Regions from separate parts of the Homo sapiens genome. Here region 1 is linked to region 2. The links are contacts of gene promoters, found by promoter capture Hi-C in blood cells and fetal thymus (Javierre and others, 2016). All regions are on one chromosome and are shown on one strand. Each heading gives the region's core, a stretch centred on a gene start or on the middle of the fragment in contact. The rest is flanking DNA. Distances are from core to core; before and after follow the strand shown.

What was found. Contacts are between HindIII fragments. The CHiCAGO score rates a contact against its expected background, and 5 or more counts as called.
Region 1: a contact is called between a fragment that was not itself captured here and the fragment with the promoter of MEIG1 in region 2, in 2 of 17 cell types (neutrophils and monocytes). The highest score is 6.7, in neutrophils.

The regions. Positions count from the first base shown.
Region 1 is chr10:14,612,013-14,617,865 of GRCh38, reverse strand. The region is part of intron 2 of FAM107B (family with sequence similarity 107 member B); the gene reads left to right. Among named protein-coding and RNA genes, the nearest start is that of FAM107B, 160 kb to the left of the region's middle. The HindIII fragment of the contact is 5,880 bases long and covers 346-5,853 here.
Region 2 is chr10:14,957,784-14,963,711 of GRCh38, reverse strand. It overlaps MEIG1 (meiosis/spermiogenesis associated 1), which reads right to left and starts at 4,324. Exons shown (of 3, transcript NM_001080836.3): 1 at 4,155-4,324. RefSeq lists a silencer at 4,052-4,101. The HindIII fragment of the contact is 3,683 bases long and covers 3,350-5,928 here.

The sequences.
Region 1 (5,853 bases), core at 2,036-4,535, 340 kb after region 2:
CCTGTCTCAGCCTCCCAAGTAGCTGGGAAAACAGGCATGCGCCACCATGGTAATTAGGCACCAAACTCTGGGTCATGGGCCTGTCTCAGGCCTTTTTTTTTTTTTTTTTTTGGCGTCTACCTGAAACTGTCTCTAGTTGTTTATTCTTTACTCCTGACCGGACAGCACCTTCCTAGATGCAGCAGTGTCCTTTCTTCCCTACCAGGACAGCTTGCTCTTGCTTTACATGTGTTGAAGCTCTGAGCACACAGTTTTACTTTTGTCTCTGCTCAAACACAGATAGCCACTTACGTGTTTCATCACTTCTAAGCAGCCATCAATTGTGAAATTAGGATATCTTAAGCTTCAGATGCCAGAATGTACAATTTTATGTTAAATCATATTCAGTTTAGACCATTTTTGAAAAGACAGTGTCTCCTGAGTGGCTTGACTCCTTGTGAGCAAGACCCAGGCTCTCCCTCACTTCCTGTTGCAAGTTTGAGAGACATGTATCCTCTCCAGGGATTAAAACCAGTAAGGCCCCCCTGCTCCACCTTCAAGTGCAAGCCCCTTCTCTTTGCAGATGCTTTTATCTTGATATGCAACAATTGCTAGCAAGGTGCAGAGCAGGAATTACACACAGGTCTCAACAGGAAAGGCTTGTTTCCTGAGTCTTTCATTCACAGTGAAAACCGGGGCATGATCTTCAAAAAAAACTGAAAATATCCCGAGTCAGTTAATTTCCTTTTCCTTTCCAGCCTCTTTATTTCCTTTTCTTCACTCCTGCTGCATTCTTGTCTGTAATTAGCTCTTCCTCTCGGTTCTCTTTCTTCTCTCTTTTCTCCTATTGCTCCTCTCCTTTTTCTTCTCTTCCTTATCCTTCTCTTATTCACCCACCTGCCTGCCTTATTTTTATTTTTACTTTCCTTACTCTCTCTCTCTCTCTTTTATTTTATTTTTATCTTTTTGAGACAGGGTCTCCCTGTGTCACCCAGGCTGGAGTACAGCGGCACAATCATGGCTCACTGCAGCCTTGACCTCCCAGGGCATCCTCCCACCTCAGCCTCTGAAGTAGCTGGGTCCACAGATATGTGCCATCACACCCAGCTAATTTTTGTATTTTTTGTGCAGAGGCAGGGTTTCCCCATGTTGCCCAGGCTGGTCTCCAACTCCTGGGCTCAAGCGATCTGCTTGCCTTGGCCTCCCACAGGGCTGGGATTACAGGCATAAGCCACTGAGTCCAGCCTCCTTACTCTCTCGAGTGTGCCTTTCATTATTGCTGTTCTTACTCTGTAAAGTTTTGTGTTCTCCAATATGCCTAGAAGAAAGTCTGCCACAAAATTGCCAATAATATACCCACTGGGTCTTTCCATTTTTTTATACCAGGCTGACCTAGGCAATGGAACAATACCTTTTATCCATTTCTTGGTGTGATTACAGCTCAGGCATATTCATTTTCAACCTCATTAATAGTCCCCTGGGCTTACTTTATGTCATCAGAAGAGGAGTGAGAATTATGGAAATCTCAGTAAAAACAATGCCCCTTGTCTTTTCATTTCTGTGGTGTTTTTGAAGCTCGAGTTTCCAGTAGCTCCATAGAACTGCTAATCAGATTTTTTCCTGTATATAAAACTGAGTCTTAAGAAGAGTCATTCCAACAAACATGCAACATGCCCTTAGTTCAGCTTTATCAAAATTTTCAATAAAGATACTCAGTTCAGTCATCCACAAGCAGGTCAATATTATTATTATTTTTTTAAAAAGCCACTGTCCTTAAGGCTCTTTATTTAACATAGCAGGGACATATCCAACCTCTTTTAGAAAGTTTTAAAATAATTGTTACAAAATGTTTGAAGGAATAAACTATTAAGGGAAGTTTTTGTGATTCTTTTATACAATTGGGAAGTATGCCTAAGTAATTCCGTCATATTTATTTTTAATTTAATTTGATAAATATCTATCTAGCTCTGATTATGAAGTACTTATTGTGCTAGGCACTAAAAAAGATTAAAACATTGATTCCTGCCTGCCTTCAAAGTTGACAAGGTAATTAGGGAACACATACAAAAAATTATTGCTTAGGACAAATAAGAAGTTTGTTAGCTTCTCGAGTATGGAATGGTGCTTTTTATTTAACTTACTCTGTTCCCAAATCTAGCTCACTCCTTTCCACACAGAGATACTTAATAAGTAATTTATAAATGCTCAGTGCTATTAAAAAATTAAATAAGCACTTGGTCTAGGTTATAAAAGTTAAGGAAGGCCTTGTGGCAGACCTAAGATTTGAACAGAAACTTAATGCATGGGCAAAACTTGGATCTGCTAACAGAGGGGAGGAAGAGCATTTCTGCCAGAGGGAACATCATGAATGAAGATTGGGAGGTGGAAGTGGGTGTATTTATGCCTCACAGGAAACTTGGCTAGAGTAGAGTTCACTTCAGCAAGGCCTAGGCTTAATGTCCAGAAGACCAAAAGATATCCATTAATTCTCTCCCTACAAGATCGTTCCTATCAGCTTATAGAAAATTATTTGTTTCTGCCTTTTTTTTTGTTTTTTTGAGATGGTGTCTCACTTTGTCACCCAGGCTGGAGTGCAGTGGCATGATCTCAGCTCACTGCAACCTTCACCTCCCAGGTTCAAGTGGTCCTCCTGCCTCAGCCTCCCAAGTAGCTGGGACTACAGGCACATGCCACCATGCCCAGCTAATTTTTGTATTTTTAGTAGAGATGAGTTTTCACTATATTGGACAGGCTGGTCTCGAACTCCTGACCTCAAGTGATCCACCCACCTCGGCCTCCCAAAGTGCTAGGATTACAGATGTGAACCACCACACCCAGCAGTTTCTGCCATTTTTAAAAACAAGCAAAACAGTGAAACAAAACCTTTCTTGGCCCTGGATTCCCCTCCGTCTACTACCCTTGACAAAGCTGCCTATACTAGCTGCCTCCAATTCCTCTTTTCCCATTATGTCTTGAAGCCACTCCAGCCAGGTCTTCACCCCTGCTGCTCCCCGAGTGATTCTTGGGTTGGTAAACAGTCCCTGTCTCGTGTAACCTGGTAGCAGCGTTTCACAAAGGTGCCCATCACATCCTCTCCTGCTTGAAACCCTGGTCTCACTTGGTTTCCAGGTTTCATTCATAGCTCCCTTGGGTCCCATTCACTTTCACTGGCCATTCCTTCTCTAAGTCTCTTTTTTTTTTTTTTTTTTTGAGACAGAGTCTCGCTTGCTGTGTCACCCAGGCTGGAGTGCAATGGCACGATCTTGGTTCACTGCAACCTCTGCCTCCTGGGTTCAAGCAATTCTCCTGTCTCAGTCTCCCGAGTAGCTGGGATTACAGGCATGCGCCACCATGCCTGGCTAATTTTTGTATTTTTAGTAGAGACTGGGTTTCACCATGTTGGTCAGGCTGATCTTGAACCCCTAACCTCAGGTGATCCACCTCCCTCAGCCTCCCAAAGTGCTGGGATTACAGGCGTGAGACACTGCACCTGACTCCTTCTCTGTCTCTTTTGCCAGTTCCCAGCAGCTCCCCGACCACTAAATGCCAGAGCGCCCTGGGCACAGGCCTCAGTTTCTCCCTTGGTGGTGAATGCAGGCTCCTGGCTTTCAGTATCACACACACACTGATGGCTTCTGATCGTGCTCAGAGCCTCTAAGAGCCCACAGGACCTCATGTGATCTGTGAACCTCCCAGGACAACGACTGTTTAGGGGGAAAGAAAGAAGCAAGTTCAAATTGTATTTATTTATTTATTGAGATGGAGTCTCACTCTGACGCCCAGGCTGGAATGCAGTGGCGCGATCTTGGCTCACTGCAACCTCTGCCTCCCACGTTCAAGCGATTCTTCTGTATCAGCCTCCCGAGTAGCTGGGACTACAGGCGCCCGCCAACACTCCTGACTAATTTTTGTATTTTTAGTAGAGATAGGGTTTCACCATGTTGCCCAGGCTGGTCTCGAACTGCTGACCTCAAGTGATCTGCCCTCCTCGGCCTCCCAAAGTGCTTGGATTACAGGTGTGAGCCACTGCCCCCAGCTGACTTTGAATTTTAATAAAAGAAAAGCCAGTCGTCCAGCTTTGAGGGAAAAGCGTTGTATAATTTGTTTTACTAGATTAGCCTAGCTGATGTGGCCTGTTTGTGAGATGACTTGAGTCATAGTGTATGCTTGTGTGGGGCAGACGGAAGGAAAGCAGTATTAGTGGATATGCACTCTGAGGATTGTGTGTCTGTGGGCCAGGCAGAATTTGATAGAGATGGAGAGAAAAATGTAGATTTGAGAGAAATGACAGAGAAAGCAATGTCTTGGTTTTGTCGCCAAAGTAGATGTAGGGCGTAAGTGAGGAAATTAAGATTATCTTGAAGTTTGTGCAGTGAAAAAACTGTCAGGTTAGTAAGGAGGCATGGGGTAAGTAAGGAAGTTCTGAGTAAGAAGAGAAGTTCTGCTTTTCATTAGTCACATGGATAAACTGTCTTTTAAAAGATTATGAATCTCTCCAAATCAAGCTAAGAATGGTCATGAGCAAATCATTCTTAAAATCAATTTCCGTACCACTAGGTTTCTATTGTTCTATGATAACATTTCAATTGCCAATTCAATTCATTGAAAGTTTATGGGCTCGGTGAGGTGGCTCACACCTGTAATCCTAGCACTTTGGGAGGCCAAGGCAGGCAGATCACTTGAGGTCAGGAGTTCGAGACCAGCCTGGCCAACGTGGTGAAACCTTGTCTCTCCTAAAAACACAAAAATTAACCGGCCATGGCGGTGCACGCTTGTCATCCTAGCTGCTCGCGGGGCTGAGGCAGGAGAATTGCTTGAACCTGGGAGGTGGAGGTTGCACTGAGCTGAGATTGCGCCGCTGCACTCTAGCCTGAGCGACAGAGTGAGACTCTGTCTCAAATAAATAAATAAAATTAAAAAAAGAAAGTTTACCTATTTCATCCTGAGTCACTTTGTAGCGACTTGTATTTTTCTAGGAATTTTTATTTCATCTGCATTTCCAGACAAAGTTGCTCATCATGGTTTTGTATGCTGTTTTTAGTTTTGGGGTATCTACAGTTATGTCTCCATTTTTATTCCCAGTCTTTTTTACTTGTTCTTTCTCTGTGTGTCTTTGTCTCTCAGCCTGTCACTTATCATTTTGGACAAAGGTCTGTTATTTTCTTTGGTCTGTCAAAGACAAGGACAGTTCTATCATATCTTTGTATTTCTTTATTTTGTCCTTGTAATTATTTGTGTATGAAATGATACAAATGATAGCAAATGGCTGAAGCAATTGTTGCAGAGAGAAATGAGCTGAGAAAAGCAGGTGCCTGTCAAAGTACAGTTTCCTGCAATGTGTGTTAGCTGTGGACTTAGAAAAAGGAGGCCACCAGAACAAGCTGGAATCTTGGACAGGGTAAGTAAGGAAGGACAGGGCAGGTTGTTCTGAGTGCTGATGGCAACTGAGAGACGAACAAGGAGAATTGCAAAACCTTTCCAGAAACTGCCCTCAGCTGCCCAAGGACTCTGTCCTTCCATCATGCATTCATTCTCTCTTTTTCCTTATAAAGTTCCAACTTTTATTAATATTATCCAGCTAACACTAACATTAGTTAGGATTTTAGTTCATGTTAAATTTGGTGGAACAAATAGAAGAATGTTATTACTTGAACAGCAGTTTTAAAAGTCCAGTAATCATTAGCAGTTCAAATGTGTGGGTCACACACTTCTCTAAGCAGAGTTAATAAGTAAACCTTCTCTGGCACGATTTAACATTAGCTGCAGTTTGAACTTTACTTCTAAGATTGGAGTGGATCACACAGCTCTCTCTTCCAGACAAGCCTGGGGAGCACAACAACTAAAGCTGGAACTTTTTATATAAATAAGGACTTA
Region 2 (5,928 bases), core at 3,075-5,574:
ATTACAGGTGTAAGCCACCGCACCCGGTCCAGTTTTACAGTATTATACGAGTTTATGTAAAATTTGGAACACCTGGCAAAACAAATAAGCCACGCTTCAGTGAAACCTTTGTCCTTTAATGCCATTCATTCTAGTGGGAAGTTCACTACTCCACTGCTGCACAATATAATAGCAATATACCAGCTATGACAAAGAGGTGAGTTGGACATGTGATACAGCCTAAGAATCCATTCATATATATAATATGAAACATTACACAGGAATATAGATATATTACACAGGAAAAAGGTTCTAAGAAATATTAAAGAAAAAAGTTAGGCTGGGCGTGGTGGCTCACGCCTGTAATCCCAGCACTTTGGGAGGCCGAGGTGGGTGGATCACCTGAGGTCGGGAGTTCGAGACTAGCCTGACCAACATGGAGAAACCCGTCGCTACTAAAAATACAAAATTAGCCGGGCGTGGTGGCGCATGCCTGTAATCCCAGCTAATCAGGAGGCTGAGGTAGGAGAATTGCTTGAACCTGGGGGGCAGAGGTTGCAGTGAGCCAAGATCGTGCCATTGCACTCCAGCCTGGGCAACAAGAGCAAAACTCTGTCTAAATTAAGAGAGAAAAAAAAAAGTTAGTGAATTCACTGTATTAAAATACTTTCAGGACAGGACGGTGGCTCACGCCTGTAATCCCAGCACTCTGGGAGACTGAAGTGGGTGGATCACGAGGTCAGGAGTTCAAGACCAGCCTGGCCAAGATGGTGAAACCCCGTGTCTACTAAAAATATAAAAATTAGCCAGGCATGGTGGCGCATGCCTGTAATTCCAGCTAATCAGGAGGCTGAGGCAGAGAACTGCTTGAACCTGGGAGATGGAGGTTGCAGTGAGCCGAGATGGTGCCACTGCACTCCAGCCTGGGTGACAGAGCGAGACTGTCTGAAAAAAAGAAAAAAAAAAAAAATTCCAAATTAGTCATATTTTTATATGAATTTAGTGACTGTATTACTTACAGGACTTTTACAGATGAAGCACATGTAGTGATACAATCTTAATTTTTGTCTTATCTATGCCCTTTTTGCTTTAGGCTTGACTTTTTGCTCATATTCATTCGAAACGTATTTTCTTGAATGCCATCTATGTAACCTTTTGTCACTTTCAGCTCAAAAAATTATGGCAACTATACATAAAAATGCTACATTTAATAGAAGAGCAGAAAATATGCTGTATTCAATTGGACTTTGGGGGAAATCACCACTTTTCTCAGTAGAAATAGACATCCTCCGGTTATTATTAAGCATTTCAAAATTTTATTTTCCCAAAATACCTAAAGAGAATATGAATGTAAATTTCACCATAGTAGGAACTCTAGTGACTACTGTAACTACGCTATATAAGTGGTGGTGGAAATTCTTTTTTTTTGCCCTTACTTTCAGTTTATTAAAAACACAAAATGAAACTAAAATTAGGAAAGATCAACTTACAATTCCTTGATTAAATTTTTCAGTGATTCTAGGAAATTCAGTGGCAGTTCTAATTCTGCTAGTACTTAGCTCTTGCAGACTGAGTGGTTTCTTTGCTGGCAGTTGTGCCAAAAAAAGAATTGATAAAAAATACATTTAATGGCTGGATGCAGCGGCTCACACCTGTAATCCCAGCTCTTTCTGAGACTGAGGAGGGAGGATCCTTTGAGTCCGAGTTCAAGACCAGCCTGGGCAACGTAGTGAGACCCTATCTCTACAAAAAATAAAATTAGCTGGGTGTGGTGGCCCATGACTGTAGTCTCAGCTACTGGGGAGGCTAAGGTGGGAGGATTGTTTGATCCCCCAAGGTTGAGGCCACAGTGAGCTGTGATCAAGTCACTGCATTCCAGCCTGGGAGACAAGAATGAGACCCTGCCTCAAGAAAAAAATGTTAAAAAAATAAATAAATAAAAATAAACGTTTTGGCCATGTGCGGTGGCTCACGCCTGTAATCCCAGCACTTTGGGAGGCCGAGGCAGGTGGATCACCTGAGGTCAAGGGTTCGAGACCAGCCTAGCCAACCTGGTGAAAACCTGTCTCTACTAAAAAAAAAAAAAAAAAAAAATTAGCCGGATGCGGTGGCGGCTGCCTGTAGTCCCAGCTACTTCGGGAGGCTGAGGCAGGAGAATCACTTGAACCCAGGAGACGGAGGTTGCGGTGAGCCAAGATCGCACCACTGCACTCCAGCCTGGGTGACAGAGCAAGACACCATCTCAAAAAAATAAATAAATTTGACATCTAAAATACCAAGTTGTAGCTCCACAAACAGGAAACAGCAATGCCTGAGTTTCTGGTTTGTGAAACTGAATTATATGAAATACTTAGGGTTTATATGCATACAGATGGTCCCGTGGAATGGTTCAACTCATATCTCCACTTTACCATGGTGCAAAAGCAATACGCATTCAGTAATTCGAGTACCCACGCAACCATTCTGTTTTCCACTTTGAATTCAGTATTCAGTAAGTTACATGACATAGTCAACACTTTATTATAAAATAGGCTTTGTGTTAGATGATGTTGCCCAACTGCAGGGGAGCTAAGTGTTCTGAGGACGTTTAAAGTTGGCTAGGTGCATTAAATGCATTTTCGACCTACCATGGGTGTATTGGGACATAATCCCATAGTTAAATTGAGGAGCATGTTATTTTATTTATTTATTTATTATTTTTTTGAGATGGAGTTTCACTCTTGTTGCTCAGGCTGGAGCGCCATGGCGTGATCTTGTCTCACCACAACCTCCGCCTCCCAGGTTAAAGCGATTCTCCTGCCTCAGCCTCCCGAGTAGCTGGAATTACAGGCATGCGCCACCATGCCTGGTTAATTTTTTTGTATTTTTAGTAGAGACGAGGTTTTCCCATGTTGGTCAGGCTGGTCTCGAATTCCCGACCTCAGGTGATCCGCCTGCCTCAGCCTCCCAAAGTGCTGGGATTACAGGGGTGAGCCACCACGCCCGGCCTCGGGCACGTTATTTTAAAAACACACCATCTCGGCGCGGTGGCTCACTCCTATAATCCCAGCACTTTGGGAGACCGAGGCGGGTGGATCACGAGGTCAGGAGATCGAGACCATCCTGGCCAACAAAGTGAAACCCCGTCTCTACTAAAAATACAAAAAATTAGCCGGGCATCGTGGCGGGCACCTGTGGTCCCAGCTACTCGGGAGGCTGAGGCAGGAGAATGGCGTGAACCCGGGAGGCGGAGCTTGCAGTGAGCCGAGATCCCGCCACTGCACTCCAGCCTGGGCTACAGAGCGAGACTCCGTCTCAAAAAACTAAAACAAAAATAAAAACAAAAAACACCATCTCAACTCCCTGACAATCTAAAGTTGGAACAGAAGCTTCTGATGTAGCCAGCCACCCAAATTCCCTTTTCACTTCCCTTTCACTCTGAAAAGCGCTTTTACTTTTAGTAGTATTAAAACTTCAAGAGCATTAGCCTCCCTAATAGTCCCTTTTATTCCTCCTATTAGATTATTTCTGTTCTTAAGAGGCAGCAGGAGGAGCCCTGTAACCAGCACGTAACCTTAGGCAAGGCCATGAACACGCCTGCGCCTGTTTCCTAACTTAAAGAGAAGCATTAGCCGGTCTCTAAGGTCCTGGAACTCCCGTCTGCTGTCGCTGGGCGTTCATTTGAAAGACAAAAGCGGTTCCGAAAGCACGCCCGGCGGTCCCTGCTCTGGGAGTGCTGACCTGCCTGTGTGCAGCACAAAACCGCTCCCTTCCGGCCCTCACAGCTAACCTGCAGTCCCCATCCCTCCAGCTTCCTTTCTGCCATAAATCACTAACTGTGTGGGAGATGAAATCCGCCTGGTGAAGGCTGGGACGGACAAAACACAGTATTCCAAAATCTAGGGCCCAAATCGGAGCCCTCGGAGACGCGGCCCCTAAAGCCAATGGGGTCCGGGGCGGCCCGGAAACTTCCGGGAGAACCGGACCCTGAGATTCTGGAAGGGCCAAATAGTGACCCTCTTCCCTAAAAATCACGGAAGAGACATGAAAACCACGGGATCTCCCTGGCAAACCTCAGGAGACAGCAGAGAACTGCGGAGCCGAGAAGGCGGGGCAAGAACTTCCGGGGTGGGGCTACGGCCGGGGCGCAGGGGTTGGCGGGCAGGGCCCTCGCCTCCAGCGACGCATCCACCCACCCCTGGGTCCGGCTCTACTGGGTTATCCTCGTTCCGCCGAGCAGGAGAGGCCGGGGGCGCCCGGGAGCTTGCAGGCGGGCGTGGGTGCTTGCGTTCTCTACTCGGGATCCGCGAGCAGGGCCAGCGAGAGGCCAAGTGTTGTGCCCTTCGCGACCCTCGCGTCTCTTAGTAACGCGATGAAGCTGCAGGAGCTCCCGGCTCCTTCAGGCCCCGCCCAGCTAGCTCAGGCCCCGCCCCCGGGAGTGGGCTTTTATGCGCATGCGCGAGGGCTGGGGTGGGCGCCGGCCCATCTTACTAAGCCAATGTAGGTCCCAGGTAGGAGCGCTGCCAGGGCTCACCCCTGAGCAGAGATGGAGGGCGAAAAAGGGTTACTTGCCGCTACTTGAATCCCAGACAAAATTCCCTGTGAAAGCGGATCACAGCACGGAGACTGTGTTTGTAGTTCCTGATAGTAGATATCTCCTATCTATTCATTTGCGAGGAATGAACCATTCCAGAGAGTCGCCATAGTGCCTGACAATCAGTAAACCTACAATAGATGATATCTATAGCTTTAATTATTTTTTCTAGCATTATCTATTACTATATTACAGTACTATCTAAGCGAAAAGTGATCAGATTCAAGATATACGGTTTTTTGTTTTTTTGTTTTTGTTTTTTTTTAGACGGAGTCTCGCTCCGTCGCCCAGGCTGGAGTGCAGTGGTGCTATCTCGGCTCACTGCAAGCTCCGCCTCCCGGGTTCACGCCATTCTCCTGCCTCAGCCTCCCGAGTAGCTGGGACTACAGGCACCCACCACCACGCCTGGCTAATTTTTTGTATTTTTAGTAGAGACGGGGTTTCACCGTGTTAGCCAGGATGATCTCGATCTCCTGACCTCGTCATCCACCCGCCTCGGCCTCCCAAAGAGCTGGGATTACAGGCGTGAGCCACCGCGCCCGGCCAATTTACATGTTTTGAATGTAGAGCCATCAGGACTTGTCAAATTGTTGAATGAAAGAAAGGAGCAATTGTGTGCTGGAGCCAGCTCATTAGAGCTCTGGAGACTCAGTAATTAAATTTTTAGGAATTTTTCTGAGCTCGTTGTTAAATACAAGCCATGAGCTGGAGTCAATGAAGATGACAAGGGCCTCGGGCACCTGCCCCAAACAAAACAAAAACACAAGACATATCACAAATTAAATTATATAAACTTCTAAATAAACGAGTCATACTAAAACAAAGGCAATACTTAGTAAAACTAAAAACAAAAAACTATTTACTTACAACTCCCAAATTTCTCTCTTCAGCCCGGTCTTTCTCTGAACTTTAGATTTGTATATCAATGTATATTCAACATCCACTTGATTGTACAAAACAACCTCCCCAAACACCTCCCTGCCAAAACAAAAACAAAAACCCTGCTCCTTCTTCATGTCTTTTAGTAGATGTGGCCTAGAGCCCTCTCTTTCCATATCCATCAATGCAACCTGCTGACTTTATAGCTTCTACTCAAGCCATCATAATTTTTCTTTTTTCTGGTAATTACAACCGTTCCCAACAGCTCTCTATGCCCCCTCTGTAGTCTGTTGTCAACACAACAGTCAATGCAATCTGTTTAAAACCTAAGTCAAGGCCGGGCGCGGTGGCTCACACCTGTAATCCCAGCACTTTGGGAGGCTGAGGTGGGCAGATCACGAGGTCAGGAGTTCGAGACCAGCCTGGCCAATATGGTGAAACCCTTTCTCTACTAAAAATACAAAAGAACTAGCTGGGAGTGGTGGCGTGCACCTGTA